Regions from separate parts of the Homo sapiens genome. Here all the other regions are linked to region 5. The links are contacts of gene promoters, found by promoter capture Hi-C in blood cells and fetal thymus (Javierre and others, 2016). All regions are on one chromosome and are shown on one strand. Each heading gives the region's core, a stretch centred on a gene start or on the middle of the fragment in contact. The rest is flanking DNA. Distances are from core to core; before and after follow the strand shown.

Region 1 (2,700 bases), core at 136-2,635, 320 kb before region 5:
TTTGAGACAGAGCCTCACTCTGTTGCCCAGGCTGGAGTGCAGTGGCACAGTCTCGGCTCACTGCAACCTCCGCCTCCCAGGTTCAAGCGATTCTCCTGACTCAGCCTCCTGAGCAGCTGGGATTACAGGCATTCACCACCACACCCAGGTAATTTTGGTGTTTTTTAGTAGAGATGGGGTTTCGCCATGTTGGCCAGGCTGTTCTCGAACTACCGACCTCAGGTGATCCACCCATCTTGGCCTGCCAAAGTGCTGGGATTACAGGTGTGAGCCACCGTGCCTGGCCAGCAAAAGTTTTAATTACACATTTTTCTTCATTTCTTCAGGTCAGTCTAATAAACATTTTAGTAGACATTTATTAAGCACCAACTATGTGCTTAACACTGTGCTGGCAATACAAAGACAGTCCTTGCCTTCCAGAAAACTACCTTTTATCTGTACTAAAACTACATCAAAAGCCCTTTAGTGGGGCAAAAATGACAGCTTCCATGTTTTATTCTTAGAATGATTGGTGACGTAGATAGAGAATTCTAGTTTCCTTCTCTACCTCATCTTCATTCCATCTACCGGCAATTCATGCTAATCCACAGTTGTTTGCAGGGTTGACAGAGAAGGTGACTATAGCAGAATCAGGCTTGCTAATGGGTGTATTCTACCACTTGTGCTGTCACCTGTTACTGGTGTAATCCACGTATACATCTGTGCTTCCCATTCACTTTGCAGGTATAGCCGAGACCATGTGGTGGAAGGGGAACCGTATGCTGGTTATGATAGACACAATGCAGAGGTAGCAGCCTTTCACTTGGACAGGTGCGTATGATCACAGCAGCTTATGTTCATTTTGTTTGCTTTCAAAAATCTTTCTTGGAGAGGACTCGTGGACTCCTTCAGAAGGATGCAACACTAATAAATAACTTGTTATCGATTTTAGATAGCTAATTGACTAGTTCCATTAAACTTGTATGAGTCTCATAATTTGGTTGGCACCAGGAATACTGAAGTATTTTACTTCCATGCTTCTTTAGGTCATTTCATTTCTGGCCTGCTCTGTTATTATCATCAGTGAAGATATTCTTGGTAAATAAACTTTGAACTTAAATCTCTGAATTGAACTGGTCGTTAATTGGGTCTAGCCATCCTGTTGTTTTGTTATGTATTTGTTTTAAGTAAGTAATGCTGACTTATTTCCATGTGCTGGAAACATATAGCATGAAATATGAGTTTTATTATTCTTTATACAAACTATGCACAGCTTCAAAAACCAGAATAATTACAAAAGGAAAGGGCCAGGCGTAGTGGCTCATGCCTGTAATCCCAACACTTTGGGAGGCCAAGGTGGGCAGATTGCATGAGCTCAGGAGTTCGAGACCAGCCTGGGCAACATGGTGAAACCCCGTCTCTACTAAAATACAAAAAATTAGCTGGGCGTGGTGACAGGCACCTGTAGTCCCAGCTTCTTGGGAGGCTGAGGCAGGAGAATCGCTTGAACCCAGGAGGCACAGCTTGCAGTGAGCCGAGATCGTGCCACTGCACTCCAGCCTGGGCGACAGAGCGAGACTCTGTCTTTAAAAAAAAAAAAAAAGGAAAGAAAATAGATGTGAATTATAAGTTTGTAAGTTAACTAGGAAAATTCTTTTTTTTTCTTTTTCAGCAGGTTACTAGTCAGGAACCTTGCAGCTGAACTGTCTGGTATCCCAGTTACTCTGCTGACCAGCTCTTTCATAAGGCCATATTGGCTGACTTTAAAAGAAACTGCTAACAATATTTGTTTTAAAAAATTAATTTATGACTGGATGCAGTGGCTCATACCTGTAATCCCAACACTTTAGGAGGCTGAGGTGGGCAGATCACTTGAGCCCAGGAGTTCAAGACCAGCCTGGACAACATGGAGAAGCCCCGTCTCTACTAAAAAAATACAAAAATTAGCTGAGTGTGGTGGCGTGTGCCTATAGTTCCAACTAGTGGGGAGGCTGAGGAGGGAGGATTGCTTGAGCCTGGGAGGTCGAGGCTGCAGTGAGCTGTGATCACACCACTGCACTCCAGCCTGAGCAACAGAGTGGGACCCTGTCTCAATAAAATAAAATAAAATAATAAATAAATTTTTTTTCTGAGACAGAGTCTCACTCTGTCCTCCAGACTGGAGTGCAGTAGCCTGATCTTGGCTTACTGCAACCTCGACGTCCTGGGTTCAAACAGTTATCCTGCCTCAGCCTACCGAGTAGCTGGGACTACAGGTACGCACCACCACACCCAGCTAATTTTTTGTATTTTTAGTAAACACGGGGTTTCACCATGTTGGCCAGGCTGGTCTGGAACTCCTGACTCGAGGTGATCCGCCCACCTCAGCCTCCCAAAGTGCTGGGATTACAGACGTGAGTCACCACGCCCAGCCTAAAAATGAATTTATAAGGAAACCAGAAAAAAAAAGGTGAAATGTTTGTCTTTTTCTGAATTAGGATTTTGTAAACATAAAAGCAATAACTTAAAAATCACAAATTCAATAGTCTTGACTAAATAAAATAATGAACTTATATAGCAAGAGACAAAATTTAAAAGCAAACAACAAACGGAGAAAACACTTGAATCTAATGTAATCTGAGTATTAATAGCCTTAATATGTGTTTATACAAATATTAATGGTCTTAATATGTGTTTATACAAACATATGTATGTTAAAACTCTATTAGAAAATGGGTTAAG
Region 2 (2,700 bases), core at 145-2,644, 490 kb before region 5:
CACAAAAGCAAAGTTGGAAAAAATTTTAGCTTTACCATTATTTGCTTGTTCAAGATTCTTAACCATTAATATCTTTAATTTTTACAAGGCTAAAGGAGCCCCAAATCTAACAAACTTAAGTGTCTTTGGTTTAAGGCATACTATTGGTAACGAGTAATTTTATCTTTAATAGTTTTTATAATGCATGTAAAAAAAGCTCCCAGATAGAATATTGAAGGAAACCTCTTATGTGTGCTTAACAAAATTATTTCTACCTAAAATATTACATATTTTTGGCCTTTTAGTCATGAATTTAATTACATCTTCTGGGTTCTTATTTTCTATTGTTAATACCACTTACATAATGCTTTTGTGTGTATATCAATAACTTAGCTTTTCCAAGTGATTCCATTTGTAGCAAGTTTAATTTCTGTCATCCAAATTAAATTACTATTACATGTAAGCCTGGAAAGCTATTTAAAATTTTGAGTTGGAACAAGAAATGCCATAGATTAATCTTAAATCTGTACAAGAATTTCTGCTTAATATTTGGTTATACTGTAATTGAGATTTTGTTGCAAAGACTTTCAACTATTTTTGTATCTTAGCTTTGTTTTATGACTACACTGAGAAATCCAACAGTTTATGTATATCTTCAGCACACACACTGTGGCTGCAGGAAGAGAAACTAATTGTGTTCACGACTATTTAGTTTGTATTCCTTTGTTTTTAATCATTGTGCTGTAAGCCTTATACATTTAATCTGTTACTTGTTAAAATTTCTTTCTACTGTCACTAAAGCACTTGTTTTCAGAAACCCAGCATGGCATGCATGTATCAGTCTGTAATCATATACACTAAACATCATTAAATTGAACCTCAAATAATGCATTAACCATTGCACAGTACTTAATGTTTTTATGTCAAGTTGCAAGATAAAACCTTTTTCAGATGAGATAAACTGTAGTATATTCCAAAGGTCTTTGTTTAGTAAAAGATTCTGAAATTTCTACTACAAATATAAAATAGTTATGCATTTGCTATACATAATATTTTTAAATAAAAGAAATATTAAATACCTTTTTGTGTCTGTTGATTCAGTGAATCCAGAAACTTGCTGCCCTTATTCTTGATTTTAAAAATCAGTGTAGAAGTTTGTTCATCTGTGACTTTAATGGCAGCTGCATTTTTGTTTTGGACCGTTGAATCCAAGCTGTAAGAAGGAACTTCTTTTTCCTTTTACAATACTAATCAATTGAATTTGACAAGCCACCTATGTAATTTTAAGTAGTATAGTGGAAGTTCTGGTCTGTGGGCCGTCTTTAATCCAGCAGAGAAAGCGTTGTGGCTTTGCTCTGTCTGCCACATGGAGAAATGCAGTAACCAGCTGCAGCTGACCCAGATTGTATATACAGTACCCCTGAATAGTGATTCCCTCTTTCTCAGTAGACTCAAGTTCAGCCCACATATTACATCACCAAAAATTGCTGGAGACTGGGGGCGGGAATCTCCTTAGGATTTCCTCTTTGTAGCCTTAAATAGGGGGGTGGGATCAGCAGGAGGTTGAATAGTTTTGAACAAGGAGAGATTGTGTGCAGGTTGAAGGAAGGGCACCATCTGGAAACAAACTATCATAGTTCAGCGGGCAATTATAAAACAAACATTTTAGTCTGCTGGCCAGAGATCTTTTAAGTTGAATACCGAAAAAAAAAATAGTGCTCCACTTCACTTAGAAGTAGTTGCAGGCTGATGAGTTTGGTTTTTGTTAACAAAGAACAAGAGCTAGACTTTGTCAGGAGGCAGCCACCTAAATAATGTAATAAATACTCTTTATAGCCTAGAAGAATTTGTAAACATTTTACTAAGTTGCTAATGAAGGTTTTAAACTTACAAGAAACTTGATGTTGTTGTAGTATGTTATGTCTTACTGTGTAATGTGTCTTAAGATAAAACAGCCTTTATATATAATTACCAAACATAAGTGAAATTCTTTCAGATGCTTAAGACTTTTAAATATTACATTCTGGTGTTACATAATGTCATATCCTCCTATTCTACAAAATGACCTCTCCTCTCTGTAAAAGGTCATTCTTGTTATTAATTGATGTGGTGTGGTTTAAAAACAAACATAACCCTGAACTGAGTAAAAAACAAGGAAGCTCTGACTCTATGCCAGCTATGTGAACTTAGACAAATCACTTTACCTGCCTCTGGCAAGGTTCTTCTGCTATGAAATAAGGTGGTGGAAGAAATGAATAAGTGTTGAGTACAACTATACTATTGTATTTCATTAATTGAAGAAATGTTAAATAACTCAGTAGCTGAAGAAACACAAACTTAGGCTTAAGTAACTTAGCTTAGCACTTAAGTACTAAGTAGTGGAACTGGGATTTGAATCTAATGCCAAAGCATTATGCCACACTCTCTGTCATTGATTACCTAGTTGCTGTAAGCTGCTTCTAGATAAAACTTTTGGGCTTTCTCTACATACCTGTGCTTTCCCTTCCTTATTGCTGTAGCTTGTGCTGTGTTTCTCTTTCTGTTAGGCCACACTGTTGATCCACATCCTTTATTTAAAGTCTGAGCTTATTTTCTACCTCTTTCACAGAATCATTTATTTGAATTCCTATGCCATATATAGGTATACCAGAGGTTGCAAACACAAGGGCCTAGAAAGGCAAATGCTCACAAGAAGAATGGAGCAGGTAATATAAATCAGTG
Region 3 (2,700 bases), core at 79-2,578, 370 kb before region 5:
CTTAAAATATTCAGTACACCATGCTGTAAACAGATGGGCTCCAACTATTCCATTTATAGAGCACAAACAGAGTAGATTTAGCAACCCTCAAAGGCACTAGGATTTTCTTTTTCTTTTTCTTTTTCTTTATTATTTTTTTTTTTTGAGATGGAGTCTCACTCTGTCACCCAGGCTGGAGTGCAGTGGTGCAATCTTGGCTCACTGAAAGCTCTGCCTCCTGGGTTCACACCATTCTTCTGCCTCAGCCTCCCAAGTAGCTGAGACTACAGGCGCCCACCACCACGCCTAGCTAATTTTTTTGTATTTTTAGTAGAGATGGGGTTTCACCGTGTTAGCCAGGATGGTCTTGATCTCCTGACCTCATGATCCACCCACCTTGGCCTCCCAAAGTGCTGGGATTACAGGCGTGAGCCACTGCGCCCAGCCAGCACTAGGATTTTCAGAAAGGCAAATGAGCCTTGGCTTCAACTTTAAGTCATCAGGGGCATTAGCCCTAAAGAAGAGAGTCAGCCTGTCCTTTGAAGCTTTGAAGCCAGGCATTGACTTATCTAGCTATAAAAGTCCCAGATGGCATCTTTTTCTAGAAACAGGCTATTTAACCTACATTGCAAATGTTTTTGGTGTAGCCACTTTCATCAGTGATCTTAGCTGGATCTTCTCTGGATAACATGCTGCAACTTCTAAATCAGCACCTGCTGCTTCACCTTGAATTTTTATGTGATGGAGATGGATTTACCTCATGAACAAATCTCTGCTAGCTTCCAAGTACTGTTCTGCAGCTTCCTCACCTCTCTCAGCCTTCATAGAATTGAAGACAGTTAGAGTCTTGCTCTGCGTTAGGCTTTGGGTTAAGGGAATGTTGTGGCTAGTTTGATCTTCTGTGCAGACCAGTCAAACTTTCTCCATATCGGCAATAGGGCTGTTTTGCTTTTTAATCATTTGTATGGTCACTGGAATAGCACTTTTAATTTCTGTTAAGAACTGTTCCTTTGCATTTACAACTTGGCTACCTGTCTGACACAAGAGGCCTAAGTTTCAGCCGATCTCAGCTTTTGACCTGCCTTCCTCACTATGCTTAATCATTCCTAGCTTTTGATTTAAAGTAAGAGATGTATGACTCTTCCTTCCACTCATACACTTTGAGGTCATTGTAAGGTTATTAACTGGCCTAATTTCAGTATTGCTGTGTCTTGGGGAATAGGCCCAAGGAGGGAGGAGGAAGGGACAGAGAGAGAGAGATGGGGAAATGACTGGTGGGTGGAGCAGTCAGAACACATACAACATTTATCAATTAAGTTCACCATCTTGTATGGATGCAGTTTGTGGAGCTTCAAAACTATTATACTAAAGCCAGGCACTGTGATGCATGCCTATAGTCCCAGCTACTTGAGAAGCTGAGGCAGGAGGATTGCTTGAGCTCAGGAGTTCAAGGTCAGCCTGGGCAATATAACAAGGCTGTCTCTAAAAAAACAAACAAGCAAAACTAACAACAAAAAATCACACTGATAACATCAAAAATAACTGATCACAGATCACCATAACAGATAAAACAATAATAAAAAAGTTAGAAATATTGCAAGAATTACCAAAATGTCACACAGAGACACAAAGTGAGCACATGGCACCAATAGATTTGCTCAATGCAGGTTTACCACAAACCCTCAATTTGAAACCAATGCGATATTTCTGCAAAGTGCCATAATACAAGGTATGCCTGTATTGAATAATGCAATGTTCAAATCTTCTAGCAAAGTGAACAGAACTACACAGAATCATGCTTTGAAATTGCCAATTTAGGAAATTATATTTGTTTTCAAAACTTGTTATTTCTTGGAACTCCACTCATAGGATTTGTTAAAAGTGTGTATAAAAAATACATAAACCTATTAATATTATTTTATTTGCAACAATAACTCATAGAACCAAGTAGAGCCACAAACATGCCCTCATAATATTGCAACAGCTATACACAAGCGAGATTATGTGATGACCACGTCTCTCCTATGCATTCCTGTGCCCATTCCCAACAATGTCCACCTTAACCTTCAATTTGGAGTTGTCAGCATTTTCCTGCTCCAAATTTTGACTTGAAGTCAATGGAGTCCTTCAAATCGGAAATTTCCCTATGTTGATTAAGCTTCAGTGCTCATAGAACTATCATACTTTTGCCTGTTTTATCAAATTCATTTTTCTCAGGTTTTGGGATTTGAAAAAAATATATGATTTCCCAAAAAAAAATGCCCAGAAGAAATCCCTGCATGAAAACACTAGGCCATGATCTTTGCCTGATTGCTAAAGGAAGAATCTTGTTAAACGAAATAATATCATAAATGAGAACGTGCATGGGGGTAGTGAAAGCAATGGGTTAGGCCCTGGTTGCTGCCTGTTAGAAGAGCCCTGGCCCTCACACACCCACAGCCCAGGCACGATGTGATGTAACCCTTTATTATTTCCCAGGACATCTCAGATCTGTTTTCCTCTGAAATATTAGGACTCACATCAGCCCTTTGGTCACAGTTAACAGTGCATCATTTACATCTATGTGTGACTTTGTCACTCTGTGGCACCCAAGTAGAAAGAAGAAGGTAAAGGCACATTAGAAGAATCCATTCTATTCCCTTTCTGCTGTCCTAGCTGTCAAATCAGCAGAAAGCTTAGACAGACCGTATGTTTACTGGAAGGGAGGGTAGAGCCCCAGAG
Region 4 (2,700 bases), core at 122-2,621, 450 kb after region 5:
GGATCACGTAAGCGGAAGAAAGGGAGGTGAGGAGGGAAAGATAAATAGGGTAAGTGTGCAGGAACGTGGGGGATGGCAATGTCTTTGAAGCTGTCTCTAAAAGTTTATGGGCAGATAAATGTATCCTGCAGGCAATGTGGTGCATGAGAGTCACAGAAAGGCCCAGGGGTATGAAGGAAGGCTTAACAGCTGGTGGCAGGAAGGGTACTCAGAGACAAAACTGGGAAGGTTTGTTAGGAAACCATTGTGCCAGTGCAGCTTGAGAGGTGATGAGTCTTCACTGGTGTGGGGGACAGAAGACTGGGGTAGCCAAAGAAGAATTTGAGGAGTTTAAATTCTGGGCAGCTAGGGGAACGTCCCATGGGCTTGTCAAACTCTAATGTGCAACCTACTCAATTGGGACCTTGTTAAAATGCAAACTCTGACTCATTAGGCCTGTGGGGGGCCTGAGATGCTATCTTTCTAATGGTGCTCCCAGGTGATGCCCACGCTGCTGGTCCACAGAGCGGGAGTGGATTTGGAGCCACACTGCCGGGCAGGTGCAGCCCTCTAAGAGGACAGTGGTGGACATGTGATATCTTTGGGTAAAGAGATAAAGGCACCCCCTTTTACCTGGTGAACACACCAGGGTGCATAGCTTTGTGAGCACAGTGCAGTTGGGTTCTAGCCCCCACTTGCCCTTTGAGTAATAAACAATTTGCAAAGCCCTTCGGGACAGCTCTGGTGGAGCCACCAACAGAGCCTCCAGACAGGTCGGAGGAGAGGAGTCCATTTGGAGAGCAGGGTGGTGACTTTAACCTGTCATAACTGAGTTTGAGATGACCACTGGGACATCCACTGAAATGTCTATCTACTAGCAGCTGGAGACCCAGCTGGAGACCTGGACTTGGGGTCTGTGGGCTCACTGATGATATGCCACACAGCGAAGAAAGCAAAATGAGGGTTGTCTGGGAATCATCTAACCCTTCTGGCCTTTTTCAGTGAGTAACTCTCTTCTTCCAACATCTCTGTCCTTTCTGTTGTCTTGCAGGTCGCCGTTCCCTTTACTGAATGTAAGTGATCGTAGTCATTTTTCCATCTCCAAGATGCCAACTTCCCATTCCCCACCCTCCTGCCCCTTGGTCCCAATGCACCTGGGAGGCTCAGAAATCCCCATTCACTGACCTAAAAGGAGAATCTGTCTGAAGCCATGACAGCCTCATGCCCAGAGCTTGCCTCTGTCCTGTTCATTCAGCCTCAGAAGCCAGGACCAGTCTCCCCAGCTTGGCCACAGCCTTCCAGGGCCCAGAATGCCACACACCACTCCCTCTGGGCTCGCCTTGCCTTTGTTTTCCAGGAGGGTTTGAAGGAGAAGAGAGATACCCCCAAAAGAAGTGCTGGTTTGAGCCAGAGAAGAGCCACCTGGTGTTTTCGAGATGTGGCCCTTTCCCCGCCAGCCCGGGCCAAAGGCTCAGGGACCACTGGGGTGTGTGCCAAGAGGGCGGGGATCAAGAGCACAGCCTTTGGGATGAACGGGCTGGGTGGAATCGCAGCCAAATTATTCGCAGCCCCGTTCAGCATGCGTGCGGTAGGGATAGCTAATAACTGCCCCGAAGGGTTATCGCGAGGATGTAGTAAGATGCGTGGGGGTGCTTAGCATGATGCCACACAGGGAGGAGCCCCGCAATCAGCGGCAGCTGTTCCTCTGTGTCTGCAGCCACGCAGAAGCGGGAGCTAAGAAGGGTGTGACGGGAGAGGAAAGGCGAGAAGAGCACCAAAGGGGAAAGATCGTGAGAACTTTTTGAAACTGGGTACTCAACTTCGCCCACTTAGGCTGGCCCAGTCTGGAGCCACAGTCGTCCTCAGCCTTCAGGAAACCCCTGGGGCCTGGCCCTCCCGGCACCTGCTGCTCTCAGGCCCCCTGCCCCAGCCTCGGGGCAGTTCCAGGAAGACTCCCCCCGGCCCAGCCCAGGGCTGCAGCCACAGCTGGTCCTCAGCCCTCCGCACATCTTTGCAGAGTTTGATGGGGCGCCGGGCGGATGACAGCGGGAACGGTTGTGATCACTGGCGGAATCCTAGCTACGGTGATCCTCCTCTGCATCATTGCCGTCCTGTGCTACTGCAGGCTCCAGGTCAGTCCCCGGGACCCGTAGCCAGAGGCTGCCAGGCCACCAGCAAACCTCTTTTTCATTATGGGGGCAGAAACTGGAGGCCGACTTCAGGGCCCACAGAGCCCAAAGCTATGGAATGTAGCAGGCGTAAGTCAAGGAGGATGGGAGTTGGGGCTGGTCGGAAGGGAGCTAAGTGCCCCCCAGCCTGCCCACTCAGAGCACACAGAAAGTGTGCTGGAAAGATACGGGGTCATTGGGTTGTGTCTCCTGCACCTCTGAGATTTCAGGAGCATGGGAAGAGCACCATTCTGGGGAGGCTCTGAAAGCTGCCGCCAGCAGCTCCAGCCCTGTCCTCAATATGATGTGTGTGTCCCTGCCCCGCTCAACTACAGCCTGGAGTTACTGCGAGGAGTGGTGGGAGGGGAAAAGGAAAGCAGTACTGGCCTTGCAAAGCTGGGATTAGAAACTTGTGGAGCAGGCCCCTGGGGTTCAGTGCCTGGCACTAGGTTCTCCATGGAGCAGGGGACAGGGGCACCTGTGCACGCTCAAAAATGCATGGGGCGGGGGGAGCATTCACCCTCTCAGGCATCCCTCTGCCCTTCCGCACAGT
Region 5 (2,700 bases), core at 146-2,645:
AGTGCGGTGGCGCCATCTCGGCTCACCGCAACCCTTTCCTCCCCGGTTCAAGCGAATCTCCTGCTTCAACCTCCTGAGTAGCTGGGATTACAGGCGCGCGCCACCTCTCTTGGCTAATTTTTGTGTTTTTAGTAGAGACGGGGTTTCACCATGTTGGTCAGGCTGGTCTCGAACTCCTGACCTCGTGATCCACCCGCCTCGGCCTAAGAAAGTGCTGGGATTACAGGCGTGAGCCACCGGCCGCTGATGGTATTCTTTCCTGAGGGCAGATTTTCACGCCAGAAGCCCCGACAATTATACCTGAGCTGGTTCCACCTAAGCTCAATCCTCCTTCCCTGCCCCAAGGGGGTGAAAAATCTGGGCCCAGGAGGCCTTCCTTGTGCTCTGGGGGGAGGCATTTAAGGGTCCAAGGAAGACGTGACCGAAATGTAAAGCACTGGACGGCTTACCCAATAAGGGACCCAGCGTTTCTTATTACCCAACATCCCCCTGAGTCTGGCTTTTAGAAAAATATGCAAAGCGTCCGGGCGCAGTGGCTCACGCCTATGATCCCAGCACTTTGGAAGGCCGAGGCGGGCGCGGTCAGGAGTTTGAGACCAGCCTGGCCAATATGGTGAAACCCCGTCTCTACTAAAAATACAAAAATTAGCCGGGCATGGTGGCCCCCGCCTGTAGTCCCTCGGGAGGCTGAGGCAGGAGAATCGCTTGAACCTGGGAGGCGGAGGTGGCAGTGAGCTGAGATCGCACCATTGCACTCCAGCCAGCGCGACAGAACGAGACTCCGTCTCAAACAAAACAAAACAAAAAACAAACTACAAAATTAGCCGGGCATGGTGGCGTCTGCCTGTAGTCCCAGCTGCTTGGGAGGCTGAGGCAGGAGAATTGCTTGAACCCAGGAGGTGGAGGTTGCAGTGAGCCGAGATCGCACCATTAAACTCCAGCCTGGGCGACAAGAGGGAAATTCCGTCTCAGGGGAAAAAAAGAGAAAGAAAGAAAAAGAGGAAGAAAGAGAAAGAAAAATATGCAAAGCAACAAAAAAGAGAGCTAGAAAGATGGAAACAACTCAGAAGACCCTTGCTTAACCCGCGTGCGTCACGGGCTACAGGGGTCGGCCCCTCGAGCTAACCCCCACCGGCGCCTGCGCACTGGCCTGGCCCGCGGCAGGAAGCCCCGGCGTGAGACACTTTCGGATTCCGTGACAACGGCGGGATTAAACGTTTTTCTTCTCCTTTGCTACTGAACCTATGCTGTGACTTAGAACATAAGAAACTCCAAGAGGGTGTAGGGATTGTCTTAGCTGTCTCCCTCCTCCGCCGGCACCGCTGAAGGCAGCCCCTATGGAGGGCGCTAAACCTCGGGGCCCTGGGTTTCTATGACGACAAACAGGCGTTCCAGCAAAGGAGGAAGTGAGCGGATGCTGGGCGGGTACGCAATGTGTGGGTAGGATCGCGGGTGTCCCTTTCCCGTCATTTTAAACCAAGAAGCAGTGCGAGGCCTGCCCAACTCGCGAGTTTGTGGAACTGGCGCGCGAGAGCGCTGCCTGTGGGGAAGGTATGGTCCCCAGCCGAGCCGCCTGCAGCGAGTGTCCCCCACCAGGGGTGCCGGCGGTCTGCGGGGTCCGCCGAGCGGGTCCTTCCTGCCCTGCTCCTTGACCCCGACCTGACGGTCCACTAAGGCTTCTTAGTCGCTACACATAACCCCAGAACATAGAGGTCGCCCCGAAGAAGGAGAACCATGCTAGATGAATTCTAAACTGCGATCTGAACCTAAGTACTCAATAGTTGTCATCTTTTTTTTTTTTTTTAAATCTTTTTTCCTCTGCCTGCAGGACTATGTGGCAGCCTGCAAGTCCCAGTGCGGCGCTGATTTGTGTCTAAATTAGCTTTCCGGAGGACTATTTCAAATTACTAAAGAGATAGGAGGCATTGTTTATTATGTCTCTCCCGAAAACGCCCTCCACCCCGCTAAACTCTACATCAACATCTGAGAGCAAAAAGTTAAAAGTGTCTGTAGCCAAGGAAGGGACAAGAGGTAAACTTCGTTGATTCTGAAGTCATAAACAGTCATGGCCGTAAGACAGAAATCACCTTCCATTCACCGGTTTTTTAAATCTGATATTCAGAATACCTTGATTGGCTACATTTTTCTAACACACTTGCTTAAATAAAGCAAGAAGTCATTCCTTTTACAGTATTTTGAGTCAGAGTACTGTTTCACTACTCCATCTAAATACAGTTTATACTTTTTTTCAAATGTTGATTTATATATGATTTTAAATTCAACCTATTTTAAATATCAATAGTTACGTATTTTTTGGTTCCTGGTCTTTGGCTTTAAGGAACTTTGGAAAAAGTAATAGTGAGGCAGGGCGCGGTGGCTCACGCCTGTAATCCCAGCACTTTGGGAGGCCGAGGTGGGCGGATCACTTGAGGTCAGGAGTTCGAGACCAGCCTGGCCAAATATGATGAAATCCCGTCTCTACTAGAAATACAAAAATTAGCCGGGCATGGTGGCTCGCGCCTGTAGTCCCAGCTTACTCTGGAGGCTGAGGCAAGAGAATCGCTTGAACCCAGGAGGTGAGGTTGCAGTGAGCCAGGATCGAGCCATTGCATTCCAGTCTGGGAGACAAGAGCAAGACCCCATCTCAAAATAAATAAATAAATAGGCCGGGCACAGTGGCTCACACCTGTAATCCCATTT
Region 6 (2,700 bases), core at 10-2,509, 290 kb before region 5:
GAATAAAAATAACTGTACTCCGTCTGTGCCTGTTTGTCCCTTCCATGCATGCTTTATGCAGCAGTCTTTCTTACCTTTTAAATTGCTGCACAACAGGCTGCCTTTTACAGAATCAGACATTTCTGCATACCCAGTAATTCCTCCTTTACCCACAGAGAGCTAAGAACTTTTCTTCTCAGATTTTAAATAAAAGATATGCTATAGTTGGTGTCTTAGTTCGTTTTGTGCTGCTGTAACAGGATACCACAGACTGGGTAATTTATTTTATTTTATTTTATCTTATTTTGAGATGGAGTCTCGCTCTGTTGCCCAGGCTGGAGTGCAGTGGCGCGATCTTGGCTCACTGCAACCTCCGCCTCCCAGGTTCAAGTGATTCTCATGTCTCAGCCTCCCAAGTAGCTGGGATTACAGGCATGTACCACCATGCCCGGGTAATTTTTGTATTTTTAGGAGAGATGGGGTTTCACCATGTTGCCTAGGCTGGTCTCGAACTCCTGACCTCAAGTGATCTGACCCCTTGGGCCTCCCAGAGTGCTGGGATTACAGGCATGAGCCACCATACCTGGCCAGACTGTGTAATTTATAATGAACAGAAATTTATTGGTTCACAGTTCTGGAGGCTAGAACGTTAAATATCAAGGTGCCAGCATCTGACAAGGGACTTATTGCTGTGTCATCATGTCACATGGCAGAAGGCAAAAGGGCAAAGAGAGAGGGCAACAAGGGGCTGAACTCGCCTTTTTTTTTTTTTTTTTTTTTTTTTTTGAGATGGAGTCTTGCTCTTTTGCCCAGGCTGGAGTGCAGTGGCACAATCTTGGCTCACTGCAACCTCCACCTCCCGGGTTCAAGTGATTCTTGTGCCTCAGCCTCCCAAGTAGCTGGGATTACAGGCACCTGCCACCACGCCCAGCTAATTTTTGTATTTTTAGTAGAGACGGGGTTTTACCATGTTGGCCAGCCTGGTCTTGAACTCCCAACCTGAGGGCCCACCTCGGCCTCCCAAAGTGTTGGGATTACAGATGTGAGCCACCGCTCCTGGCCTTGAACTTGCCTTTTAATAACAGCATTAGTTCCACCCATGAGGGCAGAGCACTCATGGCCTAACGACCTCTTAAAAGACTCTACCTTGATACTGTTACAATGGCAATTTCAACATGTATTTTGTAGGGGACAGACATTCAAATGGTAGCAGTTGGTGAAATAAGGCAGATAGGTATCCTTAAAATAATTTTTTCCGCCAGGCGCAGTGGCTCACGCCTGTAATCCCAGCACTTTGGGAGGCCGAGGCGGGCGGATCACGAGGTCAGGAGATCAAGACCATCCTGGCTAACACGGTGAAAACCCGTCTCTACTAAAAAATACAAAAAAATTAGCCGGGCGTGGTGGCGGGTGCCTGTAGTCCCAGCTACTCAGGAGGCTGAGGCAGGAGAATGGCGTGAACCCGGGAGGCAGAGCTTGCAGTGAGCCGAGATCACACCACTGCACTCCAGCCTGGGCGACAGAGCAAGACTCTGTCTCAAAAAAAAAATAATAATAATAATTTTTTCCCAGTAGAAATTATTTTAGACTTCAGAAACACATGAGGAAGAAGGAAGTTTATAGTACCCATTAACGTCTAAGGATTAACGTCTAAGGATCCTCTTGTTAACACTGTAGTGTACTTCATTCCAATCCATGTATGTGTATTTTGTTTTCCTACAGATTTGAAGTGAAACAGGTTTTTCCTCCAACCTCTTCCCCCCACCCAGCATCATATCATAGGCATTTTCCCATTCCACTAAATTTTCAAAATTGTTTTTAACAGCTGCATGGTATTCCTTTCAATGGATGAACCATAATTTAACTATTTCCCAGTCGTTAGACATTCAGATTGTTCAACATTTTTCCTGTTATAAACAGCACTGCAGTGAACATGTGTGTAAATCTCTGTATATATCTCTGATTAGTTACACAGAAACAATATCAAAACATAGTAATGTGGCTTACTCATTATGTAGGGGTAATTCTAAAGCAAAAATTATTTAGTTAAAGGATTTTACCTAATTATTTTTTCACTTTTGTCTGCCTAGCAGGCTTTCAACTCCGTTTGATAATGAGAAGTTTTATGTACCTTGTTCTATAACTTTTTCTCCCAGCATTCGGGTGTCCACCTGGAACAGACTGAACTACCTAAAGAATGGTGTGCTAAAGTCTGCCTTAAAATCTGCCATGGCCCATGACCCCATCTCCCCAGTGCTCTCTGATCCTCATCTGGACGCCGTGGACCAGCGGCTCCTGAGTGTCCTGGCCACCGTGAAGCAGTGCACCGACCAGTTTGGGATGGACACAGTACTGGTGGAAGACAGGATGCCTCTCTCACACTTGTAATTCTCGACACAAAATAAGTGAAACTTCTTTTTACAAAGATAGAGAAACAGCACAATCAATTCCAAATGGTATGAGATGGATTGGAAGTGGCCAGCAGCAAGTTCTGGTGACGGGACAGAGTGGCCTTGGATGTCTTTGGTATTTTCTGTAGTAGAAACTAAAGCAAAGACCACAAGTTTCAGAGCATGGAGACATTCCTGCTGAATCGCCTTCTCACCTCCTCGGCAATTGCTCATTCTAGGGTTGGGCATCATAGTTGGTCAGTCTTAATTCCCATGCCAAAGGACAAACAGGTGTGACATTTGGATAGATGAATACTGGGATTGGCTCTGG
Region 7 (2,700 bases), core at 201-2,700, 280 kb before region 5:
TTTTATGTGCTGCCTTTGGTGCGGAACCTTTCCCCAGGCTCTTTGTCATTGTAACTACGTTGGACAGAAAGTTGTATATCCTGCCTTTTTAAAATTTAAACAGGCCTATTGGCCGGACATGGTGGCTCACGCCTGTAATCCCAGCACTTTGGGAAGCCTAGGTGGGTGGATCACGAGGTCAGGAGATCGAGACCATCCTGGCTAACACGGTGAAACCCCGTCTCTACTAAAAATACAAAAACTTAGCTGGGCGTGGTGGCGGGCACCTGTAGTCTCAGCTACTCGGGAGGCTGAGGCCGGAGAATGGCGTGAACCCGGGAGGCGGAGCTTGCAGTGAGCCGAGATCGTGCCGCTGCACTCCAGCCTGGGCAACAGAGCAAGACTCCATCTCAAAAAAAAAAAAAAAAAAGAAAACAGGCCTATCCTATCTTACCTGATTTTTTCATGTCTTCCCGTATCAGCTTATTATATACCAGCAAGTGGATGGACAGAAATTTCCTTGGCTGTTCTGCCATTTTGGGTTTCTTCTACTAATTCAGCCATGTAGTATTGAAAACATACCAGAAGAGCCTGACAGAATTGACTGCACCTGTCTTTGGCTTTGTTTTAATATTTGGAATGTGTTCACCTGGGAAGATTATGTCAGCGTCTGAGGACAGAGGCTGCCCGCGTCTCCTGGCAGTTTCCATATGGCTTTGGAGGGCAGGGGCAGGCTGAGCTGGGCCTTTCCGGGCAGAACTGTCTGGCTTAGACTGTGGCAAGACTGCTGCAGCCCCAGCTTCCCTGCTGTGAAAACTGGCATGTGCATAGCCCTGCACCTCACACTTTCCCCCACAAAGGTGCACCCAGTAGACAGGGAGTGTGGGCTCTGGAGTGGGAGCTGGCCCTGAATAATATATTCCCTGCCCATTTCGATGAACATTGCAAAGAACCATCTTTTCACTTGAGGGTTTACTGTCTTGCCTGGGGCAAGGAACCCTCCACAGCTTGCAGGAGCCAAGTTGGATGTTGGTTAGGCCCAGTCAGTCCTTCAGCAGGCTTGCTCCCCTGAGATCTCGGCCCAGCCAGGGTGCCAGTGGGCGCTCTGCACCCGGGAGTTCAGGGCAGGGGACTGTGGCTGCCTCTGGGCACATGAGCCTCTCTTTGCCCATCACCCCTGTATGAAAGCTCAACTCCTATCCACCCCCTGGGAATAGACCCTGAGCTTAAACAGGGAAGTTGCGCCTGGATGTTTTTGTTGTAGAAGTAATGAAAGTTTGCGGGTGTGTGGACATTGTTAGCTCCTGGATGGGATGTAGTCCTGGAGAGGAGAGAGCAGGGCTGGAGCAGGGGCCCCTTCTCAAGGGCAGAAGGGCTTCTCCCCACTCCTTTCTAGGCTGTCTCCTAGTCCCCAAGCTGGCTTCACCTTGTTTAGCTTTCAACCCTCAGGGTGCTTGAGAATCACCTGGGAGCTGGTCAGATGCAAATGTCCTAGGCCCTCCCCAAGAGCTTGGATTTGATAGGTTCTGGCGGGGGGCGGGGGGTGGGGAACCCAGCCCCAGGGGGTCCATTGCACATGCCCAGGGGAAACCACGCCCTCAAGGCCGGAGGTGGAAGGAGTCACCACTTCCCCAGCTGCTCCCTATATCCCGTGCAGGAGCAGCTGATGAGCCAGATCCGGGAGACGCAGCAGCTCTGCCACCAGACCCTGTTCATCTTCGATGAAGCGGAGAAGCTGCACCCAGGGCTGCTGGAGGTCCTTGGGCCACACTTAGAACGCCGGGCCCCTGAGGGCCACAGGGCTGAGTCTCCATGGACTATCTTTCTGTTTCTCAGGTGGGTTCTGGGGAACAATAGTCAGGAGGGCTGGGGGAGGGGAAGATACTAGCTGGCAGTGGAGGCTTCCACACGCCCCCAGGTTCAGAACCTTTCCTCAAGAAAAAACAGCACAAACTCTGGTACAGAAAGCAGCAGCCAGCTGTGGTAGCTCACGCCTGTAATCCCAGCACTTTGGGAGGCCAAGGCGGCCGGGTCCCTTGAGTCCAGGAGTTCAAGACCAGCCTGGGCAACATAGTGAAACCCCATCTCTACAAAAAATATAAAAATTAGCTGGGCGTGGTGACATGTGCCTGTAGTCCCAGCTACTCGGGAGGCTGAGGTGGGAGAATCGCTTGAACCCAGGAGGTGGGGGTTGCAGTGAGCTGAGATCGGGCCACTGCACTCCAATCTGGGTGACAGATTTTTTGAAACAAATTCCCAAGGCAAGCCTGGTTAGAGAACGGCATAGTCTCCCATCAAGTCCAACACGGCCATTTCTTCCTTCAGCCTTGGAAGTCTGTTTCTTCTCCGATTATGAGAAGTCATCACTGGCTTAAAATCCAGGGTATACGGGTTGAGAAACCCATGCTTCCTCTGAGTACCTGTAGTTCAGTTGTGACGCTACCATGCGGGACCCAGTCACTGAATCACTGCACTGAGGTTCCTGTGCTTTCACTGACATCTTTGCGTGAAGCCAACTTAGAAATAACTTGTCCAACCTCATCTTTTTGCGGAGGCTCCAACTGGGGGAGTCCTGTGTCTGTTACAAGTCAAGTTTGGGCCCTTGTTGACCCAATTTGAAGGCTTCACAACAGCTCGAGCCTCGGTAGGAGTCAAACTGAGTGCTCCCTTCCCAACTCCACTCCGGCCTCGCCTTCCCCAGGCCAGCACTTGCTTGCTGGG

Evidence for each region. Contacts are between HindIII fragments. The CHiCAGO score rates a contact against its expected background, and 5 or more counts as called.
Region 1: a fragment that was not itself captured here is called in contact with the fragment with the promoter of AXDND1 in region 5 in 6 of 17 cell types (non-activated CD4 T cells, activated CD4 T cells, naive CD4 T cells and 3 more); the score reaches 6.8 in non-activated CD4 T cells.
Region 2: the fragment with the promoter of ANGPTL1 here is called in contact with the fragment with the promoter of AXDND1 in region 5 in 2 of 17 cell types (total B cells and naive B cells); the score reaches 7.9 in total B cells.
Region 3: a fragment that was not itself captured here is called in contact with the fragment with the promoter of AXDND1 in region 5 in 1 of 17 cell types (naive CD8 T cells); the score reaches 5.5 in naive CD8 T cells.
Region 4: a fragment that was not itself captured here is called in contact with the fragment with the promoter of AXDND1 in region 5 in 1 of 17 cell types (naive CD8 T cells); the score reaches 6.0 in naive CD8 T cells.
Region 6: a fragment that was not itself captured here is called in contact with the fragment with the promoter of AXDND1 in region 5 in 17 of 17 cell types (naive CD8 T cells, naive CD4 T cells, activated CD4 T cells and 14 more); the score reaches 20.0 in naive CD8 T cells.
Region 7: a fragment that was not itself captured here is called in contact with the fragment with the promoter of AXDND1 in region 5 in 17 of 17 cell types (activated CD4 T cells, naive CD8 T cells, neutrophils and 14 more); the score reaches 28.4 in activated CD4 T cells.

What each region holds. Positions count from the first base shown.
Region 1 is chr1:179,049,556-179,052,255 of GRCh38, forward strand. It overlaps FAM20B (FAM20B glycosaminoglycan xylosylkinase), which reads left to right. Exons shown (of 8, transcript NM_014864.4): 3 at 724-810. Among named protein-coding and RNA genes, the nearest start is that of FAM20B, 25 kb to the left of the region's middle. The HindIII fragment of the contact is 2,855 bases long and covers 1-2,700 here.
Region 2 is chr1:178,869,683-178,872,382 of GRCh38, forward strand. ANGPTL1 (angiopoietin like 1) reads right to left here and starts at 1,395. Exons shown (of 6, transcript NM_004673.4): 1 at 1,059-1,395. The region is part of intron 8 of RALGPS2 (Ral GEF with PH domain and SH3 binding motif 2); the gene reads left to right. The HindIII fragment of the contact is 10,209 bases long and covers 1-2,700 here.
Region 3 is chr1:178,996,434-178,999,133 of GRCh38, forward strand. No RefSeq gene overlaps it. Among named protein-coding and RNA genes, the nearest start is that of FAM20B, 28 kb to the right of the region's middle. The HindIII fragment of the contact is 1,613 bases long and covers 523-2,135 here.
Region 4 is chr1:179,811,080-179,813,779 of GRCh38, forward strand. FAM163A (family with sequence similarity 163 member A) reads left to right here. Exons shown (of 5, transcript NM_173509.3): 3 at 1,031-1,052; 4 at 1,997-2,111; 5 at 2,700. The coding sequence starts at 2,019. Among named protein-coding and RNA genes, the nearest start is that of MIR12116, 8.5 kb to the left of the region's middle. RefSeq lists a silencer at 2,015-2,240. The HindIII fragment of the contact is 3,773 bases long and covers 1-2,700 here.
Region 5 is chr1:179,364,576-179,367,275 of GRCh38, forward strand. AXDND1 (axonemal dynein light chain domain containing 1) reads left to right here and starts at 1,396. Exons shown (of 26, transcript NM_144696.6): 1 at 1,396-1,425; 2 at 1,829-2,031. The coding sequence starts at 1,935. RefSeq lists enhancers at 947-1,346, 1,727-1,796. The HindIII fragment of the contact is 9,843 bases long and covers 1-2,700 here.
Region 6 is chr1:179,069,778-179,072,477 of GRCh38, forward strand. It overlaps FAM20B (FAM20B glycosaminoglycan xylosylkinase), which reads left to right. Exons shown (of 8, transcript NM_014864.4): 8 at 2,136-2,700. The coding sequence ends at 2,367. Among named protein-coding and RNA genes, the nearest start is that of TOR3A, 11 kb to the right of the region's middle. The HindIII fragment of the contact is 6,644 bases long and covers 1-2,700 here.
Region 7 is chr1:179,086,275-179,088,974 of GRCh38, forward strand. It overlaps TOR3A (torsin family 3 member A), which reads left to right. Exons shown (of 6, transcript NM_022371.4): 4 at 1,637-1,815. Among named protein-coding and RNA genes, the nearest start is that of TOR3A, 5.6 kb to the left of the region's middle. RefSeq lists enhancers at 1-112, 1,362-2,263, 2,264-2,700. The HindIII fragment of the contact is 7,792 bases long and covers 1-2,700 here.